2 separate regions of the Homo sapiens genome follow, and region 2 is linked to region 1. Evidence: promoter capture Hi-C in human tissues and cell types (Jung and others, 2019). All regions are on one chromosome and are shown on one strand. Each heading gives the region's core, a stretch centred on a gene start or on the middle of the fragment in contact. The rest is flanking DNA. Distances are from core to core; before and after follow the strand shown. Region 1 holds the start of CA2 (carbonic anhydrase 2). Region 2 has its middle 140 kb from the start of CA3-AS1.

Region 1 (7,970 bases), core at 5,463-7,962:
CTACTCAATCCAATAAACAAAAGATGAGTGAGGGAGTATTATGGGCAAAGCCCTGTCCTAGGGCTCACATGTTGCTGGATACATATGCAACTCTAACACAGACCTTTTAGAAAAGCATTACCTTATGTATACTCTTAAGGTAGGGTTCCAAAATCTTGGTACTGTTAACGTTTTGGACAGAAAAATTCATTGTCGTCAGTGGGTGATTCTCTGCATTGTAGGATGTTTAGCAACATCCCCGGCCTCTATCCACTAGAGGCCAATGGCACACAGTCCCTCTCTCCCCCCGCTGTGAAAACCAAAAATGTGTCCAGACATTGTCAACATCCCCCTGGGGAGCAAAACTGCCTCCAGTGGAGAACCTATGTTCTAAGAAGAGGTGGACTTTTATTTCTATTAGATTGATTATAGTATCACATGTGGCAGCTGTTCTGGAACATAAAATACTTAAAATGTATACTTTGCATATTTTTAGTGTAATTGTCCCACTTAATATTTCTTCCAGTTCTGGTTGAAAGTGAAACTAGGTAATGAGCTTGCAATCTATCCACTACTCTTCAAAACTAAATAGATTCTATTACTTATAGAAGAGTTAAGTGTTACTAGTTATTATGAAAAAACAAAGACACATTCAGAAACTAAATTTTTAAAAGTCTGAAAAGCTATTTACTAAGGGAAGTTGAATTCAACTGTTTATTATATGTAAAGTTATTGTTATCCCCTGCTACCCCAAATAGTTAAAAGGAGTTTGGCAGGAAACCCTAAAAATGGCCAGCATTTTGATAGACATTCTATTTTATAGAGGAGTACTGCTCACATAATCTTAATGCATTGCTATTACATCACCACGAGGCAGTTGCCTTCATAAGCTCCTTGAAGGTATTTCGCTGGCCCTCGGGGAGACCACATAGCAGATGGCTAACAGTTCAAACTGTTTGGTTTCATACCTGGCCCCATCACTTCCTAGCTGAGTTACCTGGGGTAATCTGACCTACCTCTATGCCTCAATGACACCAGCTGTAGAGTAGGACTATGTGAAGCATTCAGAACTGTGTTGGTGCGTAATCAGTTTTCAATAAGTGTTAGCTATTTTTATAGATCAGGAACTCAAATAATGTCAATTAAATACATGTGAATTTTCATCCAAGTTAGAGAACTAGGAAAGTCAACCTGTTATTTGACAATGGAAAATATTATATGTAATGACAATCATACCATTTATTCAACAAAGAAAATATGCCAGGATTGTATCTAGCATCTTCCAGACATTCATTCTCATCACGTTGTGGAGCTAGAATTCCCTTCGCCCCGTTCCGCCCAGTCCCCATTTACAAATAAAGCATGTGAAGTTCAGAGGGATTGCTTAGTTTGCTGAAGGTGATGCAGCAAGTAAGTGTTCGAGTCAGAGTATGAACTCAGGTCTGTCTTATTACAAAGTCGATTCCCATTTCACAATTCTATGGTTCTTGACTACAATAACAATAATCCTAATGGAGCAGCTAACAACATACCAGGAATCATGTTCATTCACAGGACCAATTCACACAAACTAGTCCATTTACCACGATCAGCAGCCCTGGGTACTCTTACTACATTTCACCTTTGGAAACTGAGCTTTGAGGAGGTGAAATAAGTATATAAGATCATGTAGTGAAGAAGCCCTCGAAGCTGAATCCAAACTATAAAACCTGGGCTCTTGGCCACTTGTGATGCTGCCTCACATCTTACCAAAGAAGGATATTGAGAGACTCAGAGTCCAAGAGGGAAGCCAGAGACAGGATTAAATGGTTTTATAGTCAGAAGAAGAAGTTTGGATCTTTCTGTAAAGGAAGTTGTCAGATGAATAAAAGCAAGGAGCTAGGCAACAGCGTGTTGTATCTGGGGACTTCTACAAGTCTCCTCATCTATAAAATAAATAGTTGGACCAGGTAACCTCCAAACTTCTTTTAATTCTACAATGATATATTGTTGTGGTTTGTATTATATCCTCCCAGCACATAATATACCTGTGCATAAGCCACTCCCTAGTGGCTTCCCTGCGCAACTAGTATAAAATCCTTTCTTGCTATCATTGTCTGCAAGGCTCTGCAGGCTGTAGCCCCTGACTGTCTCTGACTCCACTACTTGTCTTTTCTTCCTCAGTCACCATGCTTCAGTCACAAGCTTTTCTGTTCTAGAAACTTCCTTTCTCAGGGCCTTTATACTTGCTGTTTCCTCTGCCTGAAATGCCCTCCCCCAGATCTTTTTTTAGTGGTTCCTCAAATGTACTTCCTTCAATAGGTTTTCTATAACCACCGCATCTAAAGTAGGATTTCCTCACTCATTATTCTTTACCTCATTCCTGTTTTACTTTCCTCATACTAATTTTCAGTATTGGAAATTTACTTTTGTTGTTTATTTTGAGTCATTTATTGTACAGTACCCCCATCCATCCCCATGTAAACTCTGTGAGGGCAGGAGTCATGTTGATCTGGTTTATGGCTATAGCCTCTGTGCTGATGCCTGACACATAATAGCATTCAGAATGATTCATTGAGTGAATGGATGATGAGACAAGTTATCTTGTGTAGCTCACCTAGCACATAGAAAATATTAAGCACAAAATAGGAGCTGAGAAACATGTAACGGTAGTAATGATAACTGACATTGATCAAGCTCTAATTATTGGCACTAGGTTAAATCCTTCACACACTGTATCATCTTAGTCCTCACCACAACTCTGTGAGGTAAGTATTATTATTATCCTAGTTTTATAGATGAGGAAACTGAATCTTAGCACAATCAAGAAATTTGCCCAAAGTCACAAAGCTAGTAAATTAACCCAGATTCAAAACCAACCTAATTTCAGCACAATGTTATTTGCTAACTATAATCTGTAACAAAATTATTTACTAACTTCTGCAAAGTGAAACTGCCATTATCTCCATTTGGATTTTTCAAAGTTTATAATTTCAAGGAGTACTATGTGAGTAACTACTATATGTATCTTGGGACTCAGGCTAGGTAAAGGGTACTAGGTGCCTAAGATACAGAGATAAATAATGTGACACAGTACTCAACTTCAGGGGGCACAGTTTAGGAAGAAAAACATAAGCGTGGTAGAATGGACATCTCCATGACCCAAACACTCCTCTGTCCTCTCACAAAAAAAAACAAAACAAAACAAACAAAAAAACACCTCCTGCTGTGGAGACTCATTCCTCTTAAATGTTTCCCATGAACCTGGCCCAGGTGTTTAATTTTGCATTCCTTAAATTATATTCTAACTGTTTAGCACTGTCTAGGAGGGACTGAATAGCCATCATTTACTGAGTGCCTACACGTGACAGGTGATTTATCTATGCTCACTGACTGAATTCTTACAACAATGAGGTGAGTGTCATTATTCCTGCTTTACAAATGAGCAGTCAACAGCTTATTGGGGCATTGGATTATAACCCAATGATTACAATAGAGTGTCTGATTACAATGCAGAATTGCCAATATTAGGATAGAAGGATGTGTATGCAAAGACCTATGGGAGCCCCAAGAAACAAATGGCTCTTGGCCTTCATAGATATTTATTTATTTTTATTTTGTTTGAGACAGTGTCTTCCTGTTTCCCAGTCTGGAGTGCAGTCGCATGATCATGGCTCACTGCAGCCTCAACCTCCTGGGTTCCGATCTGCCGACCTTAGCCTCCTAAGCAGCTGGGACTACAGGGGCACACCACCATGCCTGGCTAACTTCTTATTTTTTGTAAAGATGGGGTTTTGCCATGTTGCCCAGGCTGGTCTTGAGCTCCTGACCTCAAGCGATCCGCCTGCCTTGGCCTCCCAAAGTGCTGGGATTACAGGCGGGAGCCACTGAGTCCAGCCCCAGATATCTACTTAAACACTATAATGGTAACAAATATGAGAATATCTGGCTTTTTATTAGCTTTTTAATTAAATATTTAATAAATAATGTGTATCTCACCTTGTAAAATATTTTAACAATATCTTTACATTTTTTGAGAAAAAGCAAATACTTTCACATTTTTACTAAGAATAATATGTTAGAAGCTTTTTTATTATAATAATTGGAACACAGACTTTAAGTTTTTTTACATTACATTTTCCTGATATACTGCCTGAATTTTTTTTTTTCTGGGGCAAAGAAAAGTACTTTTCTTAAGCTACTGTCAGTTCCTTTACTTAAGATTATTCTGAAATGAACCCATCCTTCCCTCTAATGGAAAGATAGGTACATAATAAGATAAGCACTTTTTTTATTTGAACAAATCCAGTATTAGAGTAGTCTTTTGCAGCTAGTGAATCATGACAGCCTGCTAAGAAGAATGCCTTCAGTAAAATAAAGTTAGGTTGGGACTGACCAACATGAATGCATAAAGTTAACTCCATTAAAAAAAATTGACCAGGAAAATAAAACAATGCTAAGCCAACCACTGTAATACCAAAAACGCTGCTAAAAAATTTAGATTGCTTCTGAGTAACCAAAGGTGAACCACTCTCCACCCTGTGGTGAACATGTGACACTCTCCCTAACAGCAGCTCTGTGGGGAGGGCTTGCTCCCACTGAGAATTAATTCACTTTCCAGAAGTGAGAGATAAGGAAAAATTCCCATGACAATAATCCATTTGGTGAACTGCAGTTTGGTGGTGTTTGAAGTTTTACGCATATTTAAGAATCAAACATGCTCTTACTTCATCCCTGTTAGGAAAGCCACAATCCAGTTTCACGGAAAATGAAAGACAAGGATTCCTGCTGATCAAATCGCCTGGCTCCCTCCACAGAATCCCGGGAAGCCACTCTACATTCACAAACTTTGCACTCAATTCTTGGCACCTATCAACGCCATATCTCCAGGGCCAAGTGAAGAGTCTCATAGCAACTAAGTTAATATTTGAAAATTATGTAAAGAAACAAAATTACATCAATGGGCCCCAACAGATACAATGCACCTACAGAGGCACAAATAAAAGCTTCTTCTTTGCTACAAACTCCATTTTGTAATGGTCCTAAAAATTTAAAAACTTTATTGCTGCTTTCTTGCCTAAGAATTCCCTGTGACATCAACCCAAAACCCACATAAGCAGAAGTACACAATTTTCTAGAATCTTAGAACAAGTAAGTCTAAACATGAATCATATTTGTTTGGATGAAATTGACTGAAATAAATAGTAAAGAGTGATTTTGAGATACATATTGCAAAAATGTCCACTAATAACTTATCCTTGTATTTATCTGTATATTTTCAAAGGTAAGTAATGTGATGTCAAGGCCGACACAATCACATTAAACTGTGTCCTGCTTCCCCAACTGTAACTCTAATACTATTGCCCTCAGAGATTGCAGAGACCACAGAACCGAACTCCTTCCCACAAACCCCCGGATTTTTCTGTGGCAAAATCCCTTGTAGGAAATGAATTCTCTCTATATCTCAAAACAGCCTCACTTACCCAGTAGGCCCTGTAAGCACAGTGTCTCAGGTCCACAATACTTTTAGATGCCCAGGAAAATGTTTCCTTTTAAAATAAGAACAAAAAAGAAAAAAATTAGGTGTTGGTTAAAGAAAATGTTTAAATATATAATATTAAGATATTTATCTTTATGTCAGTGTTGGTATAAATGCGTGTTTATGAAAAAGGGACCCACCAAGGTGAAATGCCGTAGGACCCACAAATGTCATAATGCTGGCTGGCCTCAAAATGTCCTTCCTATTAAACTATTTTGAATGATTCCTAGGTATGCCAGATGCCAATTTTTCTTGGCCAGCCAGGGAACGTCTCATGTCTTTGGAAGAAATTATCTTTCTCTTACTGGATTCTTCTGAGAAAAGTGATTTGTTAAAAGTTTTGGTTATTTCAAATCAATATGTACTCAACTAGGACGTCTCCTCACCCACGTTAATTTTTTAAAGAGGAGGAAAGTAGGAGAAGATGAGCGCTTCATGTAAGGCTCTGCCAGCCTACGAGGAAATGCAATCCTCCAGGCTCGCCCGAGCGTGGGCTGCGGGCAGGGGACTGTGGGGCCGTTGTCTCGTTTTATTCCACGGCCGTGCAGCAGAGGGCGCGTGCCTCTCAGCACTCATGCTGCGCGCTCCCCTGCGCCTCTAGGATCGTATCCCTATTTGCCCCAAGGTCATAGCTCCTAACCCAGCTTGCCAGCCCCAGGCCGGGGACACCAGAGACTGAGCCCTTCGCGCTGGAGACCCCGGCGCGGGTGGGGCGGGAGGGCTCCGGGGCCAAGAGACAGGTCACAATGGGGACAGGGGACGAAAGGCGCCGGGGGTCCGGGTCCCGAGCAGTCCCCGCCGCCGCCAGACTCCGCAGCCGGGAGGGGGATGGGGTGCGCGTAGAGGCTCCGCGGCCCGGGTTGGACGGAGGAGCCCAGGAGCCACCGCAGCCGCCGCACGCCCAGAGCTCCGAGCTTCGCTGCCAGCCCAGGACACCGGGGCCCTGCCGTGGGCCGAGGGGAGCCGGGCGGCGGGAGAGGAGCCCCGGAGCCCCGGAGCCCCGGAGCCCCGCCGGGCGCCAGCCGAGAGGGCGTTTTCCCCGCCCCCGGAGACTCGCCCGCCCGGCCCGCCCCGCCCCGAGCGCGGGGAGTTCACCTCCGCCCGTCACCACCTCCCCTTGTCGCCTAGGTCCACCCGAGCCCCCTCCCCCGGGCCGCCCCCGAGCACGAAGTTGGCGGGAGCCTATAAAAGCTGGTGCCGGCGCGACCCGCGGACACACAGTGCAGGCGCCCAAGCCGCCGCCGCCAGATCGGTGCCGATTCCTGCCCTGCCCCGACCGCCAGCGCGACCATGTCCCATCACTGGGGGTACGGCAAACACAACGGTGAGTGCCGGCGACGGCCAGCGCGGGGGCGCCCCGATCCCCGATCCCCGATCCCCGATCCCCGAGCCCGGATGCCGGCCCGGGGCCCGCAGCGCCCGCACATGCTGTTTACCGCGGCCGCGGGGAGTGCTGGAGGCTCAGGTGCGCCCCGGGCGCTCGCTCCGCTCGCGGCTCCGCGGCGCCGGGGATGTCCCCCTTGCCCCAGCTGCGAGGCCACTGTGGAGGAATCCCCGCGTCCGCCGGAGGCGCGTAGGGCCCGAGGGAGGGGAGGCGCAGCCCTGGCCGCGGGACCCGAGGACAGTCCCTCCCGGGTCCCGACCTGGGGATCATTTTAACCGGACCTAGGAGGAGGCGGGAAAGGGTTGTAACGGAAAATTCTAGTTGTTGATCGCAGAGAAATTAAGAGACTCCCCTCCCCCCTCCCCCACCTTCCACCCCCACCCCACCCCTCCAGCTTCAGCACCACCTGTGGCTAAGGCGCTCAGCACGAACTGTCCCGGGGCATTTTCCAGTGCTGGTTTGAATCCATGGCTCTGATTTCCGAGTTTTCCCTTCATCTCTCGACTTCTAATGTTAGGGGGTCGGACATCAGGAATCGGGTTTTATCTTGGCCTCAGATCTGGTTCTTCGGAGCCAGCGGAGCAGAGGAGCATGCGTCTGGCGCACCTAGCGCATCTTTGGAGGGTGTGGGGCTTCCCAGGTAGTGGGGAACCCTGACGGTTAAAGGTGGGGTGGGCCCGGGCCTGGGCAGTGAGGAAAGGATCCAGACCTCCTTGAATGTCTTAAGTGAGCTTGCATATCCCAAAATCGCAACCACAAGCCCTGACATTAGTGTCTGCCCGATTTCAGTTGCTGAATTTCAGTAAAACGACCTTAAAATAGCTAATATTTATATAGCACTCAGTGATCTAAGAGCTTTACATATATCGATTCTAATTCTTACAGCGACATCTATGAGGTAGATTTCTAATTATCCCATATTACAAATGTGGAAACTGAGGCACAGATTACGTGTTTTCCCAAAATTTAGCCCATTGTTAAGTGATGCTTCTAAAATTGGAACTGAGCAGATTGGCTCCGGAATGATTGCTCTTCTCTAGGGGTCTGGGTGTACCTTTCCCCACAATGGGGGATTCACATGTCTTCTTT
Region 2 (7,970 bases), core at 4,025-6,524, 140 kb after region 1:
TCTTTCCTTGGACCACTTTGCACCTCAAGTGTCTGGCGTATGGCAATAATTCAATACATGTTTACTAAATACCATAATTAGTATATATTTTCAGGATAGCCAACTATACTGCTATAGCAAGTGACTCAAGTGTTTATTTCTTGCTTGTGCTTTATGCCCTTCAGGGTCAGCTTCAGCTGTGGTTCTCTTCATGTCACTTCTTTCATTGGCCAGAGCAAGTCACATGTATAAGCCTGACATCAATAGGTTGGGAAAGTATAATCTGCTTCCAGGGAAGGATAGCACATATTACAAATACTTCTCTTCAGTGCCCACATACAGAACACACTTACCTACCCCCATTAGGAGATAACCCTATTATTCATGGCACCAAGCTCAATGAAGAGTGGGGTTTTGTGATGGTCTTTACATTGGTCTAGAGACCTGTGAATAAATTTTAGTGTTAGACTGTTCTTGCATTGCTATTAAAAAATACCTGAGACTGGGTAATTTGTAAGAAAAGATGTTTAGTTTGTTCCCGGTTCTGCAGGCTGTACAGGAAGCATAGTGGCATCTACTTCAGGGAGGCCTCAGGAAGCTTCCAGTCACGGCAGAAGGCAAAGGGGGAGCAGTCACATCACCTGGCAAAAGTGGGAGCAAGAAAGACAGGGAAGGTGCCACACACTTTTAAACAGCCAGATCTCACAAGAACTCACTCCCTATCATGAGAACAGCACCAAGGAGATGGCGTTAAGCCATTCGTGATAAATCCACTCCCATGATCCAATCACCTCCAACCAGGCCCCACGTCTAACACTGAGGATTACAATTCAACATGAGATTTCGGTGGGGACACATATCCAAACTATATCCGTTATTAACTCCATGCACATCCAATATACAGTGACTGAGCAGGCTCAGGATAAATGCAGTAAGTATTTGCATTTGGAAGAGGGAAGACCAGGACATACAATAGTCATGGCCTGTAAAAGTTTGAAATCCCACTGGGAAGTTGTAAGAGGCCACTGTTTCCCTGAGGCTGGGGGATGTTCCTTGATAATTCTCTGAACTCACCCCCAGCAATGCCTGTACAGTTCGTTCTTCTCCATAGGGCTTAGCTTTGCCCTCTGAGAAGCCTTCCTTTTCCATTATCCTCTTTGGCTACATCTGAAAAGAATGTTGGAGATCATGGTCTCATTGGGAGCCAAGGTGCAGTCCCAGGCTGCTTTTCACTCAGGAAAGTTTAGGGGCCCAAGCCTCAAGAAGCCACAGTCTCTTTTAGTCCCTGCTGGGTTTTATCAACATAATCACTCACTCAGAAACATACTTGGCTTCTTATCTATTTGATTCCATCAGTTCTTTTTGCCAATAGATATGTCTTTCTCTTTGCAACTTATGAGGGTCCATTAATCCTTACAACTAATGTATTAACTAGAAAGTGTTTGAATATAACTGCCCCTTAACAAACAGAAAAATTGAAATAAAGAAAACAAAAGAAGTGCACAAAATATTTCAGGAAAACAATGGCAGGACCTTGTCTTCAATTGCACCATTAAGACCTCGATTTTACATTTAACCCACTCTTTTTCCATCATGCTTTTGCATGGGTACATTTACTACATAATAAACCTAGGGAGAGATGTTTCTGTTGCAATTGCAATTATATTACAGAAGCAGAGTATACAATATACAGCAAGACCCTTAGTTCACTATGCACATCCAGAACCTGAATTTAATGGACCACAGTTGGTGAACAATTAGAATTAGAACTGAAGATAATAGTATCCATAAAACAGTCCTCAGTGTTTACTTGAAACTTCAGTTTGTTGTTGTGATCAACCAGTATTTTAATTCATTGATTTTATTTTTATTTTTTTTTCTACTGGCAATCGCAATTTAAGAAATTACATACATACTATATCAGTCAGGGTTCTCTAGAAGGACAGAACTAATAGGATAAATATATATATAAAGGGGAGTTTATTAAGAAGTATTAACTCATGTGATCATAAGGTCCCACAATAGTCTGTCTGCAAGCAGAGGAGCAAGGAAGCCAGTCAGAGTCCCAAAGCTGAAGAACTTGGAGTTTGATGTTCAAGGGCAGGAAGCAGCCAGCATGGGGGAAAGATGTAGGCTGGGAGGCTAAGCCAGTCTAGTCTTTTCACGTTCTTCTGCCTGCTTTTTATTCTGGCTGCACTGGCAGCTGATTAGATGGCGCCCACCCAGATTAAGGGTGGGTCTGCCTTTCCCAGCCCACTGACTGGAATGTTAATCTCTTCATAGACACACCCAGGGTCAATACTTTGCATCCTTCAATCAAATCAAGTTGACACTCAGTATTAACCATCACAAATATGTATACTGAACATGGAGTTTAGAGAGATCCTATGAATTTTGAGCACAAAGTTTACAACGAAGCCAAAATATAGATGAAATTGGTTCAAAAAATAACAACAGATGTGGCTCACCCACTTTCAGTTTTGTGCTATCAGTTGTTAGAAGCAACTAGGATCAAATAGATAAGAACCTGTTTCGCCAGATAATTTGTCTTACATAGGTTGACCCAGCCAAAAATAAAAACATACAGCATAACAATAATTGGAGAGGGAGTTTTTTATGTATAATATTTCAAAAATCTCATATTTCTGTTATTTTCAGATTCTACTTGGAGTGAAGAGCACAGAATATCTAAAGTGTGGGAGTGTATTAATAAATGGCCAGGCACAGTAGCTCACACCTGTAATCCTTGCACTTTGGGAGACTGAGGCAGGCAGATCACCTGAGGTCAGGAGTTCGAGACCAGACTGGCCAACATGGTGAAACCTCATCTCTACTAAAAATACAAAAAAAAAAAAAATTAGCTGGCGGTGGTGGTGGGTGCCTATAATCCCAGCTACTTGGGAGGCTGAGGCAGGAGAATCACTTGAACCCGGGAGGCAGAGGTTGCAGTGAGCCTAGATTGCACCACTGCACTCTAGCCCAGGTGACAAGAGCAAAACTCTTATCTCAAAAATAAATAAATAAATAAATAAATGGCCACTGAAATTTAGAGTGCATTTGAAGAATCTCTCACAAAATGTTTTCTTATCTCTAGAATGAAACTGAACTTCAACCTTTGCATACTAATCTTTTTCTGTTATTATTGTAATTTAATTGGTTTTAATATTCAAATTATCCCTGATTCATTCAGTCATCAAAATTTAGGAGGCACCCACTATGTGAAAGTCTCGATTAGACATTCTGTAAATATTTTAACAATGAGAAGACAATAATTTCTAAATAAAGATTCCCCCAAAATAGTCTTTCACGAGTGAAGACTTAAGACTTAATTTTTTTTTCTGAAAACATGTCACAGTCATAAGAAGACTTGATTTTTAAGAGTAAAATTAGTTGTTTATTTAATGAACCAGGGAAAAATAGATAACTTCAATACGTATATATATTTTTAGACAGATTCTTGTTCTGTTGTCCAAGCTGGAGTGCAGTGGTGTGATCTCAGCTCACTGCAACCTCTGCCTCCCAGGTTCAAGTGATTCTTCTGCCTCAGCCTCCTGAGTAGCTGAGATTACAGGTGCCCACCACTATGCCTAGCTAATTTTTTGTATTATTAGTAGAGACAAAGTTTTACCATGTTTCCCAGGTTGGTCTCAAACTCCTGACCTTCAGTGATCCACCTGTCTCAGCCTCCCAAAGTGCTGGGATTACAGGTGTGAGCCACCACACCAGGCAAATTTGGTTAATATTAAACTGACAAGGTAATGTTTAATCCTAACTTCAGGTAAAGTAGGCTTAAAATCTTATTAGAAGTATTTCATGATGTGTTTCCATGTAAGCCACCATGAATGTCTCAAAAATGCCAAATGCTGCAAAAATTATAATTCAGGTGGCTGCTCTGTTCATGTTTTTATAGTCAAATTTTCTTGTGTAATTTGGTATTCAGTGCTGGCATGATTCTTGTCTGCCTCCCCTCATTACCAAGAATAACTCAACATTCTCTCATATTTGGCCTTCTACATTAAGACTTTCTTTTCTCAAATTTGATACAAAATACTGAAAATATTTTATCTTTACAAAAGCAAGATTTTTTAGTGGGTCTTCTTTTTCTTTCTGGAGTAAAGAACAGATATGTTTTGGCCGGGTGCAGTGGCTCATGCCTGTAATCCCAGCACTTTGGGAGGCTGAGGCCAGTGGATCACGAGGTCAGGGGTTCGAGACCAGCCTGACCAACATGGTGAAACCCCGGCTCTACTAAAAATACAAAAATTAGCTGGGCATGGTGGTGGGCGCCTGTAATCCCAGCTACTCAGGAGGCTGAGGCAGGAGAATTGCTTGAACCTGGGAAGCGGAGGTTGCAGTGAGCCGAGATCGCGCCACTGCACTCCAGCCTGGGCGACAGAGCGAGACTCTGTCTCAAAAAAAAAAGAAAAAAAAAAGAACATTATGTTTTAAACAAGCAAGCTTAGTTTTCTGCATTTATTTTCACAGAACTTATATGTTGCATAATAATTCTAGATTTCCTCCCGTCACTTATCCCAGTAGATACTTTTATCATGACTTATTCCTACTGGGTTCTATTTCTCAGTCTCCTTCAACAGTGCCTGTCTAAAGTGGGGCTGATAAACCACACTAAATTTAGGATCTGAAAAGTAGGAAATCATCTTAGGTCTTAAACACATTTGTTAAATATGCATCCGTACTCTTAATTTATATAGCACTTGGTTTTAAGTTGTCATAGAAAATGTATGTCCCCTAGCCAACATGGTAAAACCTCATCTCTACTAAAAATACAAAATTAGCCATGCATGGTGGCACATACCTGTAATCCCAGCTACTCGGAGGCTGAGGCAGGAGAATTGCTTGAACCTGGGAGGCAGAGGTTGCAGTGAGCCAAAATCGTGCCATTGCATTCAGGCCTGGGTGACACAGCGAGATTCTGTGTCAAAAAAAGAAAAGAAAAAAAGAAAAGGCATTCGTGTAATTTTATTGGTTTTTATTGCTAAAATTGTACCTTGCAATAAAAAACAAGACCAAATCTATATATTGTACAAAAAATTGGACATTGACTCTGTTCAATTTGTAATTTGAAATTACCTGTGTGTCTCACATTTGTGTCTTGCATTGCATTTCTACTAGACAGCACAGCTTTGGAAAGTGGTGTAAATTTCTTACTCAATATGTCTCATGTTACCTTTTATTTATTTTGCCCTTACTCATATTTCTTTTTCTTTCCTTTTCTTCCTTTCTTTCTTTTTTTTTTTTTTTTTTTTTTTTTTTGAGACAGACTCTTGCTCTGTCATCCAGGCTGGAGTACAGATGGGATCTCAGCTCACTGCTACCTCCACCTCCTGGGTTCAAGTGATTGTCTCACTTCAGCCTCCCGAGTAGCTGGGACTACAAAGTCCATTGACTTTGTATTAAATTTCACTCCTTTGTTTAAAAGATATTTTCAAATTCTGCTCAATTCCATGAGAATTCTTGATCATTTTCTTTATACAAAAATCCTTCCATAGTCTCTGTGATGAGAAACCAGGATTACAAAGCCATGCTCCCTGCTCTCACATTAATTTTCACAAAACTTACATATTGCCTAACACTTCTAGATTTGTGTGAACCTCTCTTCCAAATATTGTCTAATAGATACATTCATCATTAGTAAGTAAGACAATGTAGTAGTGGAGAAAGCCTCATATTATCTTGAAATACAAAGAAAGAACACATAAACAGAATCTACTAGAAAAGCAAATGTGAAACAAAGTCCTGGTTGTTTATCTTTAAAATCATATTTCAGAAGTTTGGTCGATTTTAAAGATCCCCTTCTACATTTGAGTGAAAATCATAAAATTTTTGCCTTCAAAGGAAATCACCTGGCTGGGCACAATGGCTCATGCCTGTAATCCTACCACTTTCACAGGCTGAGGCAGGCGGATCACGAGGTCAGGAGATCGACACCATCCTGGCTAACACGGTGAAACCCCGTCTCTACTAAAAATACAAATAATTAGCTGGCCATGGTGGCACTTGCCTGTAGTCCCAGCTACTTGGAAGATTGAGGCAAGATAATTGCTTGAACCCAGGAGGCGGAGGTTGCAGTAAGCCAAGATTGCGCCACTGCACTCCAGCCTGGGTGACAGAGTGAGACTCTGTCTCAAAAAAAAAAAAAAAAAAGAAAGAAAGAAAAAAATCACCTGTGCTTCATATATCAGAATATGATTAAATATAGCTACAGTTATTGAGAGCCAACTATATAGCTAATGCTTTGTGAATGTTATTTTTAACCTGCATGAAATTCTACAAAGGAAATATTATTATTATTTTATGGATATGAAAACTGAGACTCGGAGGATAAGTAATTTGACAAGGTGAAGCAACACAGTCAAGCCAGTTATCCATTCTCACATCTGCTTAACACAAACCCAATGCCCTGTCCATTGTTGCAGCCCTGTACTTTCACCATGAAGTGATAGCACTGCAGTGTCCAGCGGGGTAGTGACTAGCCACACATGCCTATTGACTAGAAATGTGGCCAGGTCAAATCGAGACTAAAACACACGCTGGATTTGGAAGACTTAATACCAAAAAAAAGGAATGTAAAATATCACATAAATTATTTTTATGTTGACCATATGTTGAAATAGTTGAAAATATCTTGAATAAATATTTGAAATAATATTTTGAATATATTGGATTAAGTATGTTATTAAATGAATTTTCCTTATTTCTTTTTCCCTTTTTAAAATGTGGCTATTGGAAAATTTGAAATTACCTATGTGTCTCACATTTGTGGGTTACGTTGTATTTCTACCGGGCAGCACAGCTTTGGAAAATGGTGTAAATTTCTTACTCAGTATATCTCATGTTACCTTTTATTTATTTTGCTTTTACTCTTTTTTTTTTTTAAGACAGACTTTTGCTCTGTCACCCAGGCTGGAGTACAGGTGTGATCTCAGCTCACTGTAACCTCCGCTTCCTGGGTTCAAGTGATTCTCCTAACTCAGCCTCCCAAGTAGCTAGGACTACAGGACACACCACCAGACTCAGCTAATTTTTGTATTTTTAGTAGAGACGGGGTTTTTTGCCTTTTTGGCCAGGCTGGTCTGGAACTCCTGGCCTCAAGTGATCTGCCTGCCTCAGCCTTCCAAAGTGCTGGGATTACAGGCGTGAATCAATGTGCCCGGTCTCATTTTTTTTCTTAAAGACTGTAAAGCTACATGTGTGGTCATTACCTAGCTGCAGAAAACTTTTATTGGATTCACTAGCAATGTCTTTCTCCCTGAAGACTCGAATCAGAGGATTTGTAACTTGCTGAGTGCTTGAAAGGCTTTTGGCTACTACAGAATTTCATTGCTGCCTGAATAGAATTTAAGTGCTTTCAAACAAGGGCCAATTCTCGCTTTCTGTTTTATATTATTTCCACAGTTGTCAAATGTATTGGGAGATAGTTAATGAGCATTTTATTGCCTTTTAAAATCAGTTGGTACAGATGGGTTGAGTAGGACGGGAGCTGAAGGCTCAAAGCAAAACACTATCCCATCTCCTTTTCAATGCCAAAGAGACATTGCAAATTATTGTCATTAAATCCCAGATTCACCAAAATTGTTTTTATTCCAGAAAAATGTTTATTGATACCGCCCTCCTGCTTATCTCCAACACTCTCTCTATGCCCCTTGACTTCTGAGGGTGTCATTATCTACACTCTGAAGAGACACAGGTATCTGGCTAAACTCATTCAAAATCTCCCTGCCTTCCCCCTTAGTCCCAACCACTTAGGGAAACAATCTTATCAGAGTAACATTTTAAAAAGGGAAAAGAAAGGAGAAGCAAAATATATTCAGTCTAATTTAGCTTCTCTGATTTCTAGATTAGAATATACAGATGCCCCTAGACTTAAGATGGGATTATACCCCAAAAAACCCATCATAAATTGAAAATATTTTAAGTCAAAAATGCATTTAATACACCTAACCTACTGAACACCATAGCTTAGCCCAACC

The links. Contacts are between HindIII fragments. The study calls those that stand out against the background at their distance.
Region 2: a contact is called between a fragment that was not itself captured here and the fragment with the promoter of CA2 in region 1, in 1 of the 25 tissues and cell types used here (hippocampus).

Annotation. Positions count from the first base shown.
Region 1 is chr8:85,457,295-85,465,264 of GRCh38, forward strand. It overlaps CA2 (carbonic anhydrase 2), which reads left to right and starts at 6,713. Exons shown (of 7, transcript NM_000067.3): 1 at 6,713-6,821. The coding sequence starts at 6,788. CA3-AS1 (CA3 antisense RNA 1) reads right to left here and starts at 7,621. Exons shown (of 3, transcript NR_121630.1): 1 at 7,288-7,621; 2 at 5,442-5,507. RefSeq lists enhancers at 4,226-4,921, 6,822-7,321 and silencers at 5,949-6,208, 6,279-6,598, 6,709-7,178. The HindIII fragment of the contact is 9,073 bases long and covers 4,504-7,970 here.
Region 2 is chr8:85,602,286-85,610,255 of GRCh38, forward strand. No RefSeq gene overlaps it. Among named protein-coding and RNA genes, the nearest start is that of CA3-AS1, 140 kb to the left of the region's middle. The HindIII fragment of the contact is 5,534 bases long and covers 2,508-7,970 here.